Regions from separate parts of the Homo sapiens genome. Here all the other regions are linked to region 1. The links are contacts of gene promoters, found by promoter capture Hi-C in blood cells and fetal thymus (Javierre and others, 2016). All regions are on one chromosome and are shown on one strand. The core of a region is centred on a gene start or on the middle of the fragment in contact, and the rest is flanking DNA. Distances in the headings are between cores, read along the strand shown. Region 1 holds the start of CCDC172 (coiled-coil domain containing 172). Region 2 overlaps ATRNL1 (attractin like 1). Region 3 overlaps ATRNL1 (attractin like 1).

Region 1 (2,963 bases), core at 212-2,711:
AAGCCCTTTCCTTTGATGGCCGCTGTGGTACAGTTTATAAGCCTCCAAACAAGTGCTCAAAGAAAACTGTTCAAACCACAATTTCAGCTTTGTTTTCACCCTTGAACAGATAAGAGTAAAACTTATTTTGGTATATCTAAATTTTACACATGCCTCTTTATGGTGGAGGATTATGAAGTTATAAATATATATTTATGAAGAGTTTTTAATGAAATGGTAAAATGTCTGGGATGTAATAAGAGGATAAAATAGTAGACTCCAAAATTAAATTCATGGCTTCTGATTCCAGATTTCTTGGTTTCAGTTCTCACCACCCTATATGAGGTACGCAACTATGGCAATATACTTAATTGTTCCGTGCCTCAGTTTCCTCAACTACGCTATGAAGGTGATAGCAAAAATTATCTCAAAAGGATATAGGGTGTTCAAAATAGTGCCTGGCAAATAATAACAAATTATTATTATTACTGATTCACAATAATTTCAAATTTATAAAGGAAAAATGAAGAGTGAGGAGGGTTACCTTGAAGGGAATTGGTAAAATGTTAATATGTACTTCTAAATGACATGATTATGGGCAGTTCTTTTCTGCTTTGTATACTTTTCAGTATTTATTCTTTTAAAATAAACTCAAAGAATTAAGTTTTATGCATCAATGGCTTGATGGAAATTAAGGCGGAAATTTGGAATAGGTTAAAATGTATAACTGATTAGACTGCAGCATTAATGAAATATTAATTAAGCCTATTGTGATGTGACAGAATTAACATTTACCTTATTTTACTTAATTTTAAGTACATTCTGACAAATTACTTTTTAAAGTTCAACCAATGTCAATTTTACATTCATAAAGTCAAATGTTTATTTTACTTAATTTTAAATACATTCTAACAACAAATTACTTTTTAAAGTTCAACCAATGCCAATTTTACATTCAGAAATAAAGTCAAATGTTTATTATAATGTCAATATTTCAACCTACTAAAACTAAAAATATTTTAATTTTTGATTTAAAAAATCCCACGCAGAAGTCCCAAAGGTGCCTTTCATGTTTAAGCTTTAATTAGCAACCACTTTGGTCTCTGACACATATTGCGCAGATATTGAAGTGTTAATATTACTGCAGCTTGATTACAAAAGGCAATGATTAATTTTAAAGCAGACAAAAAAGATATGCCCTGATTACAAAGGAATGATTAAGGCGGAATGTCAGACATTGCACATTTATAGCAGTCTTTGCCATCGTCAAAGTATAAGACTTTGTAAAAGTTTATATTTAGAATCACAGTTACTTTGTACTTTATAATATTCAGTGTTTGCGCCTTGGATACCGGGCAACCCTACTCCAACTGGGCCTAAGACCTTTGGGGTTCACATGCCCAGGGCAAACCTGCCCCCCACAGGATGGTCCCAATGAGCCGCCGTAGTTTAAGTTCTCACAGGCAAGGCCCGACCTGAAGCACTGGCTCCAGCCTTAGGGAAGGTTTTGGCCGTGGGTTTTGTTGGCACGTACCATTTTGCTGAAAGACAGAGCACCTTGAGGACGTTATCCCTAAAATGAGAGAGGACTGGGATTGAAAGGCTGACTACAGAAATGGCTGCTGCCCAGACGCCCTCAAAAGCCAAGGTCTTGGCAGCCTTTTTATTTGCCACCAAAGCGAAAAACAAACCCAGGGAGGGACGGAGGCCTGAGTCAGGGGTTCCGCCAGGGAAAAAGGCAGACCTTGAAACTGCCCTCTTAGGGCGTGAGGGAGAAAAGCCCGGTTTGTAAACTGTAACGGGAAACAAAGGCTGAGGGCAGGAAGGGGCAGCAGCGGCCAGCGTCCCTAGACCCTCAGACCCCTCAGACACCGTCTGGCGTCGGGCTCCATCTTCTTGCTGGGCTGGCGACAGAGGGTTGGAGACAGGTCTATCTGGGAATGGTTCTAGAAGAATCCATCTTCTTTATTCTGCTTTCCAGGATCCTCAGAGTTGGTTATAAAATATTTAAGGGCGAGAAAAGGATCGCAGGAGCCAGGCCCTGAGATGAGCTTGGAGTCCCTGTTTCAGCACATCATCTTCACCGAGCATCAGGCGGAGGAGAGTCGCCGTTTGATGCGAGAAGGTCGGGGTATTTCTGTCCTTTGCATGGGGCCTTTTGTCTTCTGATGCTGGGTGCTTGGAGCAGAAGGAAATCCCGAAGGCAGTGGTCAGAGCCGTTAGGGGAGCTTGCATGCCATGCTGAGGGAAAGACAACTGAAAGGTGGCTTATCAAACGCCACCAAAATGGGGACTTTAGAAAGATTGATGTGTTTAAAGATTTAATTTTTATTACAGTAAGGTCGGAAATAACCAGATGTCGTGAAAAAATTAAGAAAGCAACGGAGGAGCTGAATGAAGAGAAAATCAAGCTGGAATCTAAGGTATTGAAATGTAAAGCATACTAATTATCACTTGAAAAAGCCTGCCTTAACTTGACTTTTGGGGGATATTTCAGTGTTTAACCAGTTGTCCTTCAAGTAGGAAGCACGTTACTCTGTGCTGGCTGTTTTAGTTCCATGTTGCCTGGTGATGTTTAAAGTTCTGAATCCCGTGACACCTTCAATTCCAAGACGAATTTGCCCTAAATAAACTAAGGTAATGAAGAATTCATTGTCCATTTTGTGGGATGGTTAAGGTTTTAAAAGAGCACAATGTCATTAGAAGAATCATTATTCCACTTATTTAATAAGTAGTTGGTGCAGTATATACATTTTGAATGATAAATAATTTGTGTGCTATGTTGATATAACAATTGCATGTAAATTTCAAACAAGCCCCTGCCTTTAGTTTTAAAAGTCTCTACCACATTTTAGACATGCCTTGCGTCCGAAGTATACCTTTTCCATTAGCGTTTCTCTCTTTCCTGCAGCGTTTGTAATGTTCTGTTATTTTAAAAAGAAGCAAGAGAGTCTGATGGCTTCTTGAAGGATGGATAGAATTTT
Region 2 (2,963 bases), core at 300-2,799, 620 kb before region 1:
TCCCAGCTACTCGGGAGGCTGAGGCAGGAGAATCACTTGAACCTGCGAGGCAGAGGTTGCAGTGAGCTGAGATGGTACCACTGCATTCCAGCCTGGCAACAGAGCGAGACTCCATCTCAAAAAAAAAAAGAAGAAGAAATGTGAGTAGACCAAAAAAAAGAGCAGCTATCCAGAAATGGCCATTACTAGCAATATTCGTCTCAGTGCTTTTTGTATTAAGTTATTAAATTTTAGTAATATTTAAAAGTTAACAAAGTAGCCAGATAAACTAAATACACTAAAGGAAATTTCATATTTATATACACCAGCAACAAATAGTAAATATGATTTTTTTAATCTATATTAGCAACAAAAATGGCTATTTAGGAATAATTTTAACAGATGCTCAAGATTGTTATGTAGAAAATTATGAAGTCATAAAATTGTAAAGTTTTATAAAGCTTTGTTGAGAGGGATTAATGATGACTCAACCAAATGGAGAGGAATAGCTACTTTATGGATAAAAAGATCTAGTAAAGTCATCAATTCTACTGAATCTAAGAAGATTCAGTGTAGTAAAGTTATCAAATTGATCTATAGATTTAATAAAATTCCCATTGCAACATGTTTTTATAAAACATGAAAGATAGTTCTAAAATTTACATGGAAAAGCAAAGTATCAAGAATATCCAAGACACTCTTGACCAGGAAGTATAAGATTAGATGACTTGCCTTTCAAGATACTCAGTTTTGTTTTGTTTTTTAATAAAACTAGAGTAATTAAGAAATGTGATTTTTTGCGTAAGGATAGGCAATTAGATCAAGAGAACAGAATAAAGAGTTCAACAACAAACTCACATAGAATTAAAAACTTGATATGTGTCACTGCAAATTATTGGGAGTAAAATGAATAAATGAGAGCTTCACACAGAAACATAAATGGATGTTAGAAACATAAGCTGAAGTGAAAAAAGCAAGATATAAAGGACCATTCACAGTCAGAGAACATTTATTTGTTTGTTTATTTATTTATTTATCATTTATTATTTTAAATAATTGCAGCTTTTATTTTAGATTCAAGGATACATATGCAGGTTTCTTACATGGGTACATTACGTGACTGAGGTTTGGGATACCATTGACCCCGTCATCGAAGTAGTGAGCATAGTACCCCATAGTTACTTTCTCAGCCCTTTCCTCCTGCTCTCTCATCTCTAGTAGCCTCCTCTGTCTGTTGCTGTCATCATTATGTCCATGAGTGCTCAGTGTTTAACTCCCACTTTTAAATGAGACCATGTGGTATTTGGTTTTCTGTTCCTATGTTAATTTGCTTAGGATAACGGCCTTCAGCTACATCCATGTTGCTGCAAAGGACAAGATTTCATTCATTTTTATGGCTATGTAGAATTCCATGGTGTATATGTACCACATTTTCTTTATTCATCTGTCATTGATGGACACTTAAGTTGACTCAATGTCTTTACCATTGTGAATTGTACTGGAATAAAAATACAAATGTGTGTGCCTTTTTTGGTTAAATGATTTATTTCTTTTGGATATATACCCAGTAATGGGATTGCTGGGTCAAATTGTAGTTCTGTTTTAAGTTCTTTGAGAAATCTTCAAACTGCTTTCCACAGTGGCTGAGCTAATTTACACTCCCAGCAACACTGTGTAAGTGTTTCTTTTTCTCTGCAGCCTCACCAGCATCTACTGTTGTTTGACTTTTTAAAAATATGCATTCTGGCTGGTGTGAGATGGTATCTCATTGTGGTTTTGTGGTTTTGATTTCCATTTCTCTGATGGTGAGTGATATGAAGCATTTTTTCATATGTATTTTAGCCACTTATATGTCTTCTTTTGAGAAGTGTCTGTTCATGTCTTTTGCCCACTTTTTACTGGGGTTATTTGACTTTTCCTTGTTGAATTGTTTAAATTCCTTGTAGATTCTGCATATTAGACCTTTATTGGCTGCATAGCTTGTGAATATTTTCTCCCATGCTGTATGTTGTCTGTTATACTTTGTTGATAGTTTCAGGCTTTAAACCAATAACAGTAAAGAAGGACAAAGAAGGGCATTATATATTGATAAAGAGTTCAATTCAACAAAAAGACTTAACTATTCTAAATATATATGCACTCAACGTTGGAGCACCCAGAATTATAAAACAAGTCCTTCTAGACCTATGAAAATACACAGACAGCTACACAATAATAGAGGGGAAGTGCAACACCCCACTAACAGCATTAGATAGATCATCAAGGCAGAAGACTAACAAAGAATTTCTGGGCTTAAATTCTATGCTTGACCATTTGGACCTAAAAGATATCTATAGAAAACTACACCTGTTAACCACAGAATATACATTCTTCTCATCTGCACATGAAACATACTCTAAGATCAACCCCATGCTTGGTCATAAAACAAGTCTCAATAAATTTTTGAAATTGAAAATATAACAACCATACCCTCAATCCACATTGGAATAAAAGTAGAAATCAATACCAATAAGATCTCTCAAAACCACACAATTACATGGAAATTTAAAAACCTGCCCTTGAATTGACTTTTGGATAAACAACAAAATTAAGGCAGGAATCAAAAAATTATTGGAAATAAGTGAAAATATAGATACAACATACCAAAATTTCTGGGATGCAGCAAAAGCAGTATTCAGAGGAAGCTTATAGTGCTAAACACCTACCTCAAAAAATTAGAAAGATGTCAATTTAATTATCTAACATCACAGCTAGAGGAACTAGAAAAACAAAAACTAACCCCAATGCTAAAGAAGAAAAGAAATAACTGAAATCAGAGCATAGCTGAATAAAGTTGAGACACAAAAATCCATACAAAGAATCAACAAAACCAAAAGTTGGTTATTTGGAAGTATAAATAAGATTGATAGACTGCTAGGTAGATTAGCAAACAAACTGAAGAAGATCCAAATAACCAAAATCAGAAATATCAAAGATGATATTAC
Region 3 (2,963 bases), core at 250-2,749, 600 kb before region 1:
ATGAGAAGGGCAAGAATTGCAATATCTAGTGCTGGTCATCAATTTTTTTATCATGACTTAATGAATATCATAATTACAAGGAGAGGCAAAAAGATAAATTAGCTTAGTAGTTGGTTGGGACTTGCTAGTTTATTGGTTTTAGCCTGGGCACAGCCCAGAATAGTCACAAAGAGAAAGAAACAAGTATCTGGGGGTGCTGTAGAAGTCCTTGCACACAATTTCTGCACCTTACTAATCATGCCTCATTTTGAATGATAAACAGAGGCTTTGAACAAAATTATAAACACTGCCAATAATAATTCCTTCTGGTTCCATAGCAGTTCACAGGGGATTCTGATGACTTACAAAACTTAGTCTTGGCAGGTATATGTTCCTTTAATTTCTATTAATGCATTTTGACAACTTTTCATTATCTTTTCTTAAATATTTTTACTGTTTTTTTTTTTTCTTTTTCAGCTAAGACAAAAATCTGAGTTATTTTGAGTAGGAAAATTTGGCATAGCCATCACTGTAATAACACTTTTTACTCAAGTAGCACCTCTCACCCGAGGCTTTCAGAGTGCTTTTGAGTACATTGTATTAGGCCTGCAGGATGGAGGTCAGGGGAAAAGTTATTTGTAGGCACCGTACATTTAAAGCTTCTGTGGACATACAGCCAAGGCCACGGGGAGAAAGTAATTTTCATCTTTAGTATTCTAGATATGGATATCTGTATAAAATGATTCCTAACTTTTCAATGCCATTTGTTAAAAGAGGGAACCAGATATTGTTGAATTTCATGTGCTTTTAAACCTATTTTAAGATAAATCATTTTTAACCCCCTCCAGCAACTGCTTCGAGAACGACAGCAGATGGCCAGCCGTCCCTTTGCTTCTGTTGATGTAGCTCTGGAAGTGGGAGCTGAACAAACAGAGTTTCTGCGAGGGCCATTAGAGGTAGGAACAGCGGTGCTGAAAGAGGACCACTGTGCTTTGCATATTTATTATATTGCTTCTCTAATCTACATCTGCTTATGAAGCCAAACAGAGTCTGATTATCTACAGTTGACAAGATTCAGCTACATATGTTATGCCATTTTCAAGGCACATAGTTTTAATAGTATGACATGAGCTGTAACCAAAGCCACTGGAGAATCTATTAGCCTAGGCAGGAGTGACAGACTGCTCACCTGGCAGCCTTTCTCTGACAGAGGAGCTGAGGGAATTTAAGATATAGGTATGATCGAAGAAACAAAGCGCCTATATTTAGTCTTTGGAGTACTCTGTGCACCAAGTTAACAATTCACATCTATCTTTATTAACAAAGTTTACTTAGAAAAGGTACGAGTGGAGATGAGTTGCATTTTAATTACATAGCTTCATTTTTGAATGTTGAAAAGTGAATGTTTCTCACATATAAAATGAATATTTTTATTTGTGGTTAATTGCTGTATTATTACATTCCTTTATTGCAAAGGCAGAAATAGAGTATGATGAAACAGAAATCATTATATGCAACTAAATATGGTATTAGAATCCAAAAGTAATACATGAAGTGGTTTCTGAAAATAATAATCCCTAAAGATGCAAAATTCGGCCGGGCGCGGTGGCTCACACCTGCAATCCCAGCACTTTGGGAGGCCAAGGTGGGCAGATCACGAGGTCAGGAGATCGCGACCATCCTGGCTAACATGGTGAAACCCCGTCTCTACTAAAAAAAAAAAAAAAAGAAAAAAAAAAAAAAAAATTAGCCGGGCGTGGTGGCAGGCACCTGTGGTCCCAGCTGCTCAGGAGACTGAGGCAGAAGAATGGCGTGAACCCGGGAGGCGGAGCTTGCAGTGAGCCGAGATCCTGCCACTGCACTCCAGCCTGGGCGACAGACAGAGTGGGACTCCGCCTCAAAAAAAAAAAAAAAAAAAAAAAAAGGATGCAAAATTCACAAATTATGATTAATGACTATTCAAAGCATTATGATGCATACTAATTTAATTGTATGTTTATTACTTTTATTTACTTTTATATGTGGTAAGATATATTTAAGTAGAAAGGTTAAGAAACTCTAGAATTGAAACATTTTATTCTCTTTTTTAAAAATGTCTTTATTTGACTAATTTTATGTTGCCATTTTCAGATTTTACTTTTTGTCAAGGAAAATAAAGAATGGAAAAATAGAATCATTCAAAAACCTAGGTATACATATAATAGATTCTGTCTGTAGCATTTTTGTTTTTTCTGAAAAAATAAGACAAAATCACAACTCATGGATGCTACTCAAAGGGTCAGTTTTTAGAGGAAATGAAATATTGGGTGCATGTTTCCCTATGATTTTTAAGACATTTTGTGTACTTGATTTTTTACTACTCTAGATCACAGGTTACCATGGAAGCTTAGAACATCAGGAAATTTGTGTGTATATCTTCTATTTGTTGGGGAAAAAATAACAAAAAAGAATGATTAAATGAAAGTTACAGCAAGTGCTCTAATTTCATTTTGGTTCCTTGTTTCAAATAACTTTTATAAAAAACTTTCACACACAGAAAACTTAGACTATTTTTGGACTATTATAAATTCTTTTTATCCCCATCTGTTTAAAACATTCTTAAATACTGCTAAAAATCGAGTAACAAGAGAAAAAAAATGTAAGTAATGCACACATAGACTAAAGAAGAAAAGAAATAAAGAACTAGAAAATTCACAAACTCAAGGAACAAATATGACACAGACATATGTCACCATAGTTTGTCAGTTGCACGTTAATAGTGTTCAATAATGTATTGTTAGGTACCCATGTGTTCATAATCATCATATCTTCATGTTCTATTTTTTCCAAATGTTGGTTCTTTCTTTATCATTGTGAATTTTTAACCTTAAATTGTATTTTGTAGAGTTAAAAAATGTCTAGCCCTACTTTCTTTTAGTCCATATTTTCTGATATTCCTTATTTCATTTGCAATTTCGCTATATCCTTTTGTTTTACAACTATAC

What was found. Contacts are between HindIII fragments. The CHiCAGO score rates a contact against its expected background, and 5 or more counts as called.
Region 2: a contact is called between a fragment that was not itself captured here and the fragment with the promoter of CCDC172 in region 1, in 1 of 17 cell types (endothelial precursors). The highest score is 5.3, in endothelial precursors.
Region 3: a contact is called between a fragment that was not itself captured here and the fragment with the promoter of CCDC172 in region 1, in 1 of 17 cell types (endothelial precursors). The highest score is 5.2, in endothelial precursors.

Annotation. Positions count from the first base shown.
Region 1 is chr10:116,322,987-116,325,949 of GRCh38, forward strand. CCDC172 (coiled-coil domain containing 172) reads left to right here and starts at 1,462. Exons shown (of 9, transcript NM_198515.3): 1 at 1,462-1,627; 2 at 1,961-2,104; 3 at 2,317-2,402. The coding sequence starts at 2,026. The HindIII fragment of the contact is 6,159 bases long and covers 1,056-2,963 here.
Region 2 is chr10:115,698,659-115,701,621 of GRCh38, forward strand. All of the region lies in intron 26 of ATRNL1 (attractin like 1), which reads left to right. Among named protein-coding and RNA genes, the nearest start is that of SNORD158, 490 kb to the right of the region's middle. The HindIII fragment of the contact is 2,223 bases long and covers 439-2,661 here.
Region 3 is chr10:115,726,421-115,729,383 of GRCh38, forward strand. ATRNL1 (attractin like 1) reads left to right here. Exons shown (of 29, transcript NM_207303.4): 27 at 828-935. Among named protein-coding and RNA genes, the nearest start is that of SNORD158, 470 kb to the right of the region's middle. The HindIII fragment of the contact is 1,726 bases long and covers 637-2,362 here.